Regions from separate parts of the Homo sapiens genome. Here all the other regions are linked to region 1. The links are contacts of gene promoters, found by promoter capture Hi-C in blood cells and fetal thymus (Javierre and others, 2016). All regions are on one chromosome and are shown on one strand. The core of a region is centred on a gene start or on the middle of the fragment in contact, and the rest is flanking DNA. Distances in the headings are between cores, read along the strand shown.

Region 1 (2,700 bases), core at 68-2,567:
GGGAGGGACAGAAGGAGGGAAAAGAGGGCGGTTCTATGCCTCTTCCTGGTACTGCCCCTGGGAAGAGGTAGGCTTTTCTCTTCTTGCCCCATCTTGAGGGTGCCACAACTTAAGGGGCATCAGTGGAGAGGTGGGGTTGGTATTTGCTGAAATGAGGACTTCTTTGCACTGAAAATTTGGCCCTTCCTGGCTAGTGAACCTTCAAAAAGTATGGTCCTGAAACCATCCCACCCTCATCGCAAAGCTGAAACCATCCCACCCTTATTGCAAAGCTGCCCCCTGCTGGTTTCTCCTCTGACCAAAGCCATGGGATTAACCTACTTGTGTTGGCTGCAATGGTGCGTCCCTGGTCGGCCTACCTTACTGATGGCAACATGCCCAGGCCACAAACTGCCTGACCAGAGCCCTGAACCATGGGCATCTCCCTGTGTACCGCCTGAACCATGAGGGCTCAGGCCCCACCCAACTGTTTCTGGGCTTAGTGCCAAGATGGGGAAGGGGTGGGTCTGTACATCTCTGCTGCTTCTACACAAACAGATGCAACATGGGGGCGCCCCTGGCACAGGGAAAGGCACTTGTGGGAATAGACAGGGACTCAGGAAAACATGTAACACACTGCACACGTGTAGCATCCCCGTGCCTAAGGACGTGCAACATTGCAGTTTACAGTATGCATCAAACATGTCACATTGCAGTATACATATGTGGCTGCTACATGAGTTACCCACAGTCCTCAGCACACATGTGGCACCTGTAAGCTTGCATACATATAACATCCCTGCGCACAGGAACAAGCAACATGCATTCAGGACTTGGGCACATGTTAATACACCGTGCATGTGTGTGGCACTTGCATGCACCTACCCAGGCAACATGGCAGTGCACACTTAGGGCACCTGTATGCATATGCAAAGTTCAGCGCACATGACTGGCACCTGCATGCACAGGGACATGCAATATGCAATGCACATGGGAAGGTGAGCAAATGCTTCAGCCTGCAGGGCCCGGGACACCCTGGCGGCGCGACAAGCCTCCGGCATGGGTATAGCTGGAGGGGCGTCGCGGATCGCCTCATTCTGCGGTCCAAGAAGCAGCGGGCTGGGCGGGGGCTTACCCAGGGCTTCTCCCGCGCCGGCGCCTGGGGCCCAAGGCGGGGAGGTGGGGGGCACGATCGGCTCGGCTGGCGCTGTTCCCCCTTTAACAGGAGGCGGCGCGCGTCGCCCCCGCCCCTTCTCCCGCGGCTCCTCGCGCCCGGCCCGGCGCGCGCCCCCTCCCGGGCCCGGCCCGCGCAGGCGCCGCGTCCCGCCTCGGCCGTCACTCGGCCCGGCGCGCGCTGCGGGCAGCGGCCGGAGCGGCCGGAGGAACCGGGTTCGGCGGCAGCGGCGGCGGCGCTCAGAGACCGAAGAGGATGCGGCACCGGCTCTCAGAGCCCGGGGCTGCGGCCGCCGCCCGCAAATAGGAGGCGGCGCGCGGCGCGGGCGGTGCTCGGGGCGGGGGAGCGGGGGAGCGGGGGGCGGCGCGGCAAGGAGGCGGCGGCGGCGGCGGCGGCAGGAGCCCGCGCCCGGCCCGGCGCCGCCCGCCCGCCCGCCCCGCGCTGCTCCGCGGCGCCTTTTCTGCACCCGCCGCCCGGGAGAGCGGGAGCCTCGGCCCTCCGCGCGGCTGCAGCTACCTACCCTGCGCCCGGCCCGGTCCCCGACTTAGGGATGGCAAACTTGCGCCCCGTGGCCGCCCCCGCCAGCGCCGGCCCCCGCTCCTGCTGCTGACGGCGCCCAGGTGAGTGCTCGGCCCCAGACCCCGACCTGGCCTCGCACCGAGCCCTGCCGGCGCGGTCCCGAGTTTCCGCACCGGCCCGGACTCGGGGCGCTCTCCTAACCCGTCTCTGCTGAATTCTCCCCCAGCCCGAACTGAGTTCGTTCAGCGTTCGCCCACCCCCATCTTCTGGGGAACTCCCAAACCTAGGGCCGAGGCCCCCTTAATCGCTGGTGAATCTCTAATCTCGGCCCCCCCCCTCCCCCAGCCTGGACCGACCCTCTTACCCATCTATGCTAAAGTCTCCCCCTCCAGAATTCTGACACAGACCGTGCTTGCTGTCTCGAGTCTTTCCCTATCTCGGCCTGGATCCGGGCAGTGTGCCCCCCACCTTTATTAGAGCCCCCCCATTAACCTGCAGCTCAACTGTGTCTCCCCCTCTATTTCCCGTCACGGTCTGAATGCCGGACCCTGCTCCTCTCCTCCACTTCATCACTGCCCGGAGTCTTTCCTGTCCCCATCCATGTCTGCCCATAGTTTCTACCCTCCCCCGCGCCTGTACCCCGACCATGCTTCTTCTCTATTTCTGCCCCTAGCGCCCCCTCCCCCATATCTATCTGACCGGAGTCCCGCCTTCCCTCGCCAATCTTGCTGCAAGTCCCCTCCCCTCAGCTTGGAATTGGGGCCGTGTCCCCCGTGTCTGCTCCGCGCCCCCTCCCCTCCAGCTGAGATCCCGACTGGACCCGCATCCCTGACTCCCGTGTCCATCTTTGGCCGGAGTCTATCTGTCCATCCCCCATCCCTATCCTCCCACCCCTGGTCATAGAGCTGGGCACCAGACGCACCCTCCCGCAGCCCCAGGGCCGGCATGATCCGGAGGGGGTTGTAGGCTGTGAAGTTGGCGGCCACTCCCGCAGTCAGCTTGGTCCGAGGGCACAGCCGGGGGAAGTC
Region 2 (2,700 bases), core at 148-2,647, 220 kb before region 1:
ACACCAGCATGGGCGACAGAGCGAGACTCTGTCTCAAAATAAATAAATAAATAAAATAAAATAAAATAAAATAAAATAATAATATGGACAGTGACCGTTTAGTGAGCACTTCCTGAGCAACATGCTGCACTAAATAGTTTACATATATTAACTTCATTCTCATGGCAGCCCTTTGAGGTAGGTATTATTAATCTCATTTTGCAGTGAGGAAATTGAAGCTCAGACAGGTTAAGTGACACCATCGAAGTCACATAGCCAGAAAGTTGTTGCAGTGGGCTATGTATGAAGCTATCAGTTTCTATTGCCTCCTCAGAATTTTTATTTTTTAATTTTAGAATGAAATTCTTGCTTGCTCCAGGCTGGAGTGCAGTGGTGTTGTGATCACAGCTCACCGCAGCCTTGACCTCCTTGGCTCAAGCTATCCTCTCACCTCGGCCCCCAAGTAGCTGGGACCACAGGCATGTGCCACCACACCTGGCTAATTTTTTTTTTTGTAAAGGTGGGGTCTTGCTTTGCTACCCAGGCTGGTCTCAAACTCCCGGGCTAAAGCAATTCCCCCGCCTTAGCCTGCCAAAGTGCTGGGATTACAGGTGTGAGCCACTGCGCCTGGCCCTCCCCAGAGTTTTTTTTTTTTTTTTTTTTTGAGACGGGGTCTCACTCTGTCGCCCAGGCTGGAGTGCAGTGGCACGATCTCGGCTCACTGCAAGCTCCGCCTCCCGGGTTCACGCCATTCTCCTGCCTCAGCCTCCTGAGTAGCTGGGACTACAGGCACCCACCAGCACGCCCGGCTAATTTTTTTGTATTTTTAGTAGAGATGGGGTTTCACCATGTTAGCCAGGATAGTCTCGATCTCCTGACCTGGTGATCCACCCGCCTCGGCCTCCCAAAGTGCTGGGATTACAGGCTTGAGCCACCGCGCCCGGCCTTCCCCAGAATTTCTTACAGAAAATTTCTACTCGGGATCCAGTAGGTGACCAGCTAGTGCTCTGAAGCTTTGTATGCCATTAATTGCTTAACGTCAGTATCACATGCGCTCTGGATGATTCTCGGTGGCTCCAATGCTGAGTGTGTGGTGGTTGACTCTACTGCATCAGTATCACTCAAGACTGCTCTATCGAGTTACAATGCCTCCTCTTTGTCAGGGTCCTGGCTTCCCCCAGGGCTTGAGGACAGTATGTGGCTTTTGAACTTGCTTTTCATCGGGGATGGAGAAAGCATGCGAGTTCACCCACTGCCTCAATTGTTAGAAGTGTCTGGGCAGAATCAGGCATATGTGGCTGGCCGATGTCTCTCCCTGGTAGTTCCAGGGGCCAGCCTCGCCTTCCTGTCTGAACTCGGCAGGGACAGGCTGGCTGGGTCGACAGAGGCATCTGCCTGGCAGTTGGGGGCCTGTGAGAATAGCTCTAGTTCTCACCCAGCAGCCTGAGTTGTGGCCTGGGCAAGACCTAGTGAAGGCACACGTTAGTCACAGCAGCCTGGGTGGGGAGGGGGCAGGCATGGGGAGTTCCCTGTGGAGTTCTGGGCAGAAGAGAAGAGCTCAGCTATCACTGTGTGACTGGTAGGGCAGAGTGAGGAGGGGCGTTAGGCCAAGTGCCTCTCTTCCCCTTGGTCGTTAGTCGAGAGCCTCAGGGAAAACGCCAGCCTTCCTGATCTGATCTAATTTCGAGCCCCCCTGCTGTGTGACAGAATGATTCTCTCTGCACATGGTCAGCCGCAGATTTTTCTCAAGGTGAAAGCAATTAGGGCTTCATTCCCTCCTCCCCCAGCTGCTAGAAATAAAAGGAAGATGGAAGAGAAGCTTCTGCCAAGGTCAGCCAGAATGCCCAGTCCTGTTCCTGTAATTGGCTCTGCCACCTGCTCACACCTCTCACAGGTTGTTGTGGTCTCAGGCATTTTGGTGTCCCCCAGGGCTGAGGCAGTGAAGACAGCAGGAGCTACTGCTTTTACATCTCTCTCCAGGACAAGAAAGAGGGCATCTTCACCCTGCCCTGGGTGGGGAATGTGCAGGAACTGTGTGAGCCAGGCCTGGGCGGCACACACAGATGGAGCTGAGCTGTTCTCTCCTTTCTCTGGAAGAATCAAAACCCAGGCAAGAGAAAAGTCATTGGAAGGTGGGAGAACTCATTCATTTGGTCAACTGCTAAACCAAGCACTTTGCTAGGCGTTCCTGGTCCCTGTAGTCTTGGAGCCAAGGGGAACAGAGTGGGTGCAGGAGGTGGAGGGATGGGGAAGTCAACGGGCAGGCAATTCCAAAGGTACCAAATGTCACAAAGGAGGACAGCAGGATACCACGGGAACCTGACCTACGATAGAAATTAGGTTCTTGGCTTTTTTTTTTTCCTTAATTTTTAAATGTATTGTCATAGAGATGAGGTTTCACTGTGTTGCCCAGGCTGGTCTTGAACTCCTGGGCTCAAGCAATCCTCTCTTCTTGGCTTCCCAAAGTACTGGGCTTACAGGTGTGAGTGACCAACCACATCCAGCCTTATTTTATTTTATTTTATTTTATTTTATTTTATTTTATTTTATTTTATTTTATTTTATTTTATTTTATTTTATTAGAGAAAGGGTCTTGCTTTGCTGTCCAGGCTGAAGTGCAGTAGCATGAACAGGGCTCACCGCAGCTTTGACCTCCTGGGCTATAAGTGATCCTCCTGCCTCATCCTCTAGAGTAGTTGGGACTACAGACATGCTCCACCA
Region 3 (2,700 bases), core at 78-2,577, 240 kb before region 1:
TAATCCCAGCTACTCGGGAGGCTGAGGCAGGAGAATCGCTTGAACCCAAGAGGTGGAGGTTGCAGTGAACCGAGATTGCATCACTGCACTCCAGCCTGGGCGACAGAGCGAGACTTCATCTAAAATAATAATAATAATAATAATAAATAAAAAATAAAAATTACCCAGGCATGGTGGCGGGCACCTGTAATCCCAGCTATTTGGGAGGCTGAGGCAGGAGAATCGCTTGAACCTGGGAGGTGGAGGTTACAGTGAGCCAAGATCGCGTCATTGCACTCCAGCCTGGGCAACAAGAGTGAAACTCCATTTCAAAAATAAATAAATAGATAGGCTGGGCGCAGTGGCTCCCAATCCCAGCACTTTGGGAGGCTGAGGTGGGTGGATCAGCTGAGGTCAGGAGTTCGAGACGAGTCTGGCCAACATGGCAAAACCCCGTCTCTACTAAAACTACAAAAATTAGCCAGGTGTGGTGGCACCTGCCTTTAATCCCAGCTACACGGGATGCTGAGGCAGGAGAATTGCTTGAACCTGGGAGGTGGAGGTTGCAGTGAGCCGAGATCGCACCACTGCACTCCAGCCTGGGTTACAGAGAAAGACTGTCTCAAAATAAATAAATAAATAAACAAACAAACTCCCACTCTGCCCTTTGCCACTGACCTGCTCCTCCTCAGTGTCTGTATCTTAGGGAACAGCACCCCTAACTCACTGCACACCCTGGATATCTGAGACTTGTTCTGACTTCCCTCCTCTGCCTCATCACTCTACCCCCACCACATACAAACCATTCTTAAGTCCTTTGTTGCTTACCTCATAAATACTGAAAATCCCATCCACATTTCTCTGTCTCCCCTGCCTCTGCCTCCAGCTGAAGTGCCATAATGCCTCTCTTGAACTTCTGCCACCTCTGACCTGGTCCCCTACTTCCACTCCTTTTCCCCTTTTCTATTTTCAACCCAGAAGCCAGAATAGTATTTTTCCTATTGCCTTTAGGATAAAGACCTGAGTCCTGTTAACATGTTTGACCTGCCCCTACCTGTATGCCTTTCTTTTCTTTTTTTATAGAGATCGGGTCTCACTGTATTGCCCAGGCTGGAATGCAGTGGCGCCATCATAGCTCACTGCAGCCTCCAACTCCTGGCCTCAAATGATCCTCCTTCCTCAGCCTCCCAAGTAGCTGGGACTACAGGTGCTACTGTGCCCAGCTACACATGGCTTTCTTACCTCATCTCATGCCATTCTCCTCCCTGGTTCCTGTGCTTAGCAACCCTGGCCTTTTTCAGTTCCTCAAATAAGCCAGACTCCTGCTTCCTCTCGACCACACCCATTCTGGTTCCTTAGCTTAAAACTCCAATCACTGTCCCCCTTCCTCCAATCCAGTCCCTTGTCTTTTCTTTCTTTAGCTACTCCTCTTTTCTTTAGCTACTGTAATTCCTATATATTCTTCCGATATAGTCAATTGCCACTTCTTCAGGGAAGGTGTCCAGGCCCCCTAGTGCAGATTGGCTTAGCTCCCTTTGTTACATGCTTTCATGGCTCCTTCCTAAAACAGCACCTTTTAAATTTACCTCTTTGGGGCTGGATGTGGTGGCTCATTCCTGTAATCCCAGCATTTTGGGAGGCCAAGGTGGGTGGATTACTTGAGCTCAGGAGTTCGAGACCAGCCTGGGCAACATGGCGAAACCCTGTCTCTACCAAAAAAAAAAAAAAAAAAAAATTCACTGGGTGTAGTGATGTGAGCCTGTGGTCCCAGCTACTTGGGAGGCTAAGGTGGGAGGATTGCTTGAGCCCAGGAGGTGGAGGTTGCGGTGAGCCGAGCTCATGCCACTGTACTCCATCTTGGGTGACAGAGTGATACCCCATCTCAAAAAAAAAAAAAAAAAAACCACACAAAAATTTACCTCTTTGTGATTATTTGAGTAACCTCCATCTCTGCAACTCAAATGTAAGCTCTATGAGAGCAGGAACTTTGTTTCTGGTGTTTAAGGTTATGTCCCCAGCACAGTGCTGGTCTGGATTGGCTGATCAGTAAATATTTGTTGACTCAATGAATATCAATAGGAACAGCACATGCAAAGACAACAAAACTTTACAAAACTTGGTGTGGGTCCCTGGAATGGCAAGTTGCGGGATATGAGCTAGATTTGGATGAGTGGGGAGGGGCTCATGGAAGATGGCAGGAGATAAGGCCAAAAGGTAGTCTGAGCCGGGCGGGCTGGCTCACGCCTGTAATCCCAGCACTTTGGGAGGCGGAGGCGGGTGGATCACGAGGTCAGGAGATTGAGACCATCCTGGCTAACATGGTGAAACCCCGTCTCTACTAAAAATACAAAAAAAATTAGCCGGGCGCGGTGGCGGGCGCCTGTAGTCCCAGCTACTCAGGAGGCTGAGGCAGGAGAATGGCGTGAACCCGGGAGGCGGAGCTTGCAGTGAGCCAAGATCGCGCCACTGCACTCCAGCCTGGGTGACAGAGCGAGACTCCGTCTCAAAAAAAAAAAAAGGTAGTCTGAGTCTTGATGCTCAGATAAGGAGATAGAGTGCCAGTGGAGAACAGTGAGATAACGTGGTCAGACGCGGAAAGGAGGGAAGAACACCACAGCTCACAGGTTAGATTTAGCCTATCCATATGTTTTAAAATTGGGCCTATCTAGGCCGGGCGCAGTGGCTCACGCCTGTAATCCCAGCACTTTGGTAGGCCGAGGC
Region 4 (2,700 bases), core at 131-2,630, 200 kb before region 1:
CCATCCTGGCTAACACGGTGAAACCCTGTCTCTCCAAAAAAATACACAAAATTAGCTGGGTGTGGTGGCAGGCGCCTGTAGTCCCAGCTACTTGGGAGGCTGAGGCAGGAGAATGGCATGAACCCGGGAGGCGGAGCTTGCAGTGAGCCAAGATCGCGCCACTGTACTCCAGCATGGGTGACAGAGCGAGACTCTGTCTCAAAAAAAAAAAAAAAAAAAAGAAGAGAATTTAATAGTACATAAGGATATCCAGTAGGAATTAGTTCTCCTTCCTACTGCCATGCCCTCTTTCCTCCATTCTCAGAGGCAGTCATTATTGGAGGTGTTTCCTTCCAATGTGTTCTATACATACCTAAATAGATATATCTACATCTATACAAATTCTTATTTTAAACAGACACATAAACTTATTTTTTTCTTTTAAAAACAATCTTAACAATGAATCTTGAAGATTATTCCATACCAACACATCCAGATAGATTTATCTGTCATTTTTTTTTTTTTGAGAGGGAGTTTTGCTCTTGTTGCCCAGGCTGGAGTGCAATGGCATAATCTTGGCTCACTGCCACCTCTGCCTCCCAGGTTCAAGCAATTCTCCTGCCTTGGCCTCCCAAGTAGCTGGGACTACAGGCGCCCACTACCACGCCCAGCTAAGTTTTGTATTTTTAGTAGAGACGGGGTTTCGCCATGTTCGCCAGGCTGGTCTCGATCTCTTGAGCTCAAGTGATCTGCCTGCTTTGGCCTCCCAAAGTGCTGGGATTACAGGTGTGAGCCACTGTGCCCAGCCTCATTTTTTTTTTTTTTAGAGTCTTACTCTGTCACCCAAGCTGGAGTGCAGTGGCGTGATCAGAGCTCACTGCAGTGTCAACCTCCTAGCCTCAAGCGATCCTCCCACCTTAGCCTCCTGAGTAGCTGGGACTACCGGTGCACACCACCGCACCTCAGCTAATTTTTTGTATTTTTTTGTATAGAAGAACTTTCGCCACGTTGCCCAGGATGGTCTCAAACTCCTCAGTGCAAGCAGTCCACGCACCTTGGGCTCCCAAAATGATGGAATTTCAGCCGTGAGCCACTGTGCCTGACCCTTTTTTTTTTTTTTTTAAGGCTAGTTAAGTCAAGTGAAGCTGTGGGAGTGGAAAAGGAATAAAGAAATATTTTAAACAGTTGCATACTATTCCATTTTAGTAAATGACTGTCCTACTGAAGGATGTTTAGATTCTGTCTCTGTTTTTTTTTTTTTTGAAACAGAGTTTCTCTCATCTAGGGTAGAGTGCAGTGGTGCAGTCTCAGCTCACTGCAACCTCTGCCTCCCAGGTTCAAGCGATTCTCTCGCCTCAACCTCCCGAGTAGCTGGGATTACAGGTGCCTGCCACCACACCCAGCTAATTTTTTTGCTTTTTTGTTGTATTTTTTCGGGGTTTTTTTTGGGGCGGAGTCTTACTCTGTCACCCAGGCTGGAGTGCAGTGGCGCGATCTCGGCACACTGCAACCTCTGCCTCCCGGGTTCAAGCAATTCTCCTGCTTCAGCCTCCCGAGTAGTTGGGATTGCAGGCATGTACCACCATGCCCAGCTAATTTTTGTATTTTTAGTAGAGACGGGGTCTCACCATGTTGGCCAGGCTACTCTCCAACTACTGACCTCAAATGATCCACCTGCCTCGGCCTCCCAAAGTGCTGGGATTACAGGCGTGAGCCACCATGCCTGGCCATTTTTTTGTATTTTTAGTAGAAACAGGGTTTTACCCTGTTGGCCAGGCTGTTCTCAAACTCCCAACCTCAGGTGATGCACCTGCCTCGGCTTCCCAAAATGCTGGGATTACAGGCGCCCAGCCTAAATTCTCTTTTGCTGTAGCAAACATCCTTGTGTTAATTTCTTTGGACATGCCAAATTGCCTTGGGAAATACTTTGAAAAGTAAAAAGAACCATACAAGGGCAAGGGCTTTTATGATTAGGATGATTGTTGTTGTTTTCCTGCAACTTTGCCTTCTCTGCAGTCTGAAACCCCAAGTTCTGACCATGAGTGCTCTCTCTAGTGGACAGGCGTGCTCTCCATCACTTGCTCTAGCTGTCAGAAAAGAGTGTCTCCTGAAAGTCTCTGGCTTGGAATAGACAGCATTGTTCAGATAGGTTTGCAGTCTTTAGGCTTAGGCTGCTAAACCCTGATTATGGCCCGTTTTGGGATGGGGTGCTGGGCTACTGATGCTGGTGTGCAGCACATTAACTGCAGGGATAGCCAGAGGTCACACTTCTGGGGATGACCTTGACTTTCAGAGTAGACTGGGTGAGCGGTATTTTGCTAGATCAAGCTCTGACCTGTTCTGACCACAAGAGGACAGTAGTGAGCTGCCTAGCGCTTCTGCCAGGCTCATGGAAGGCCCTTCCTATACAGGGAGTGTCTGTCTGGAGTAGCTCCCTGCAGGACTGGGCAGCCAGGTAAATTCTCCTCTTCCTGAAGAATGAAGGTATGTGCTGGTCGTGGTGGCTCATGCCTGTAATCCCAGCACTTTGGGAGGCCGAGGTGGGCGGATCACCTGGAGTTGGGAGTTCCAGACCACCCCGACAAACATGGAGAAACCCCGTCTCTACTAAAAATACAAAATTAGTTGGGTGTGGTGCCTGTAATCCCAGCTGCTTAGGAGGCTGAGATGGGAGAATCGCTTGAACCCAGGAGGCTGAGGTTGCGGTGAGCCGGAGATCGC

The links. The method cuts DNA at HindIII sites, captures the fragments that hold promoters and counts their contacts. A CHiCAGO score of 5 or more calls a contact.
Region 2: a fragment that was not itself captured here is called in contact with the fragment with the promoter of ADGRB2 in region 1 in 2 of 17 cell types (activated CD4 T cells and naive CD8 T cells); the score reaches 6.3 in activated CD4 T cells.
Region 3: a fragment that was not itself captured here is called in contact with the fragment with the promoter of ADGRB2 in region 1 in 5 of 17 cell types (fetal thymus, M1 macrophages, naive CD8 T cells and 2 more); the score reaches 6.3 in fetal thymus.
Region 4: a fragment that was not itself captured here is called in contact with the fragment with the promoter of ADGRB2 in region 1 in 9 of 17 cell types (fetal thymus, naive CD4 T cells, total B cells and 6 more); the score reaches 9.8 in fetal thymus.

Annotation. Positions count from the first base shown.
Region 1 is chr1:31,762,957-31,765,656 of GRCh38, reverse strand. ADGRB2 (adhesion G protein-coupled receptor B2) reads left to right here and starts at 1,317. Exons shown (of 33, transcript NM_001364857.2): 1 at 1,317-1,773. RefSeq lists a silencer at 2,635-2,700. The HindIII fragment of the contact is 4,434 bases long and covers 761-2,700 here.
Region 2 is chr1:31,986,241-31,988,940 of GRCh38, reverse strand. No RefSeq gene overlaps it. Among named protein-coding and RNA genes, the nearest start is that of KHDRBS1, 26 kb to the left of the region's middle. The HindIII fragment of the contact is 806 bases long and covers 995-1,800 here.
Region 3 is chr1:32,004,217-32,006,916 of GRCh38, reverse strand. No RefSeq gene overlaps it. Among named protein-coding and RNA genes, the nearest start is that of KHDRBS1, 8.3 kb to the left of the region's middle. The HindIII fragment of the contact is 4,207 bases long and covers 1-2,700 here.
Region 4 is chr1:31,963,911-31,966,610 of GRCh38, reverse strand. No RefSeq gene overlaps it. Among named protein-coding and RNA genes, the nearest start is that of PTP4A2, 27 kb to the right of the region's middle. The HindIII fragment of the contact is 4,027 bases long and covers 1-2,700 here.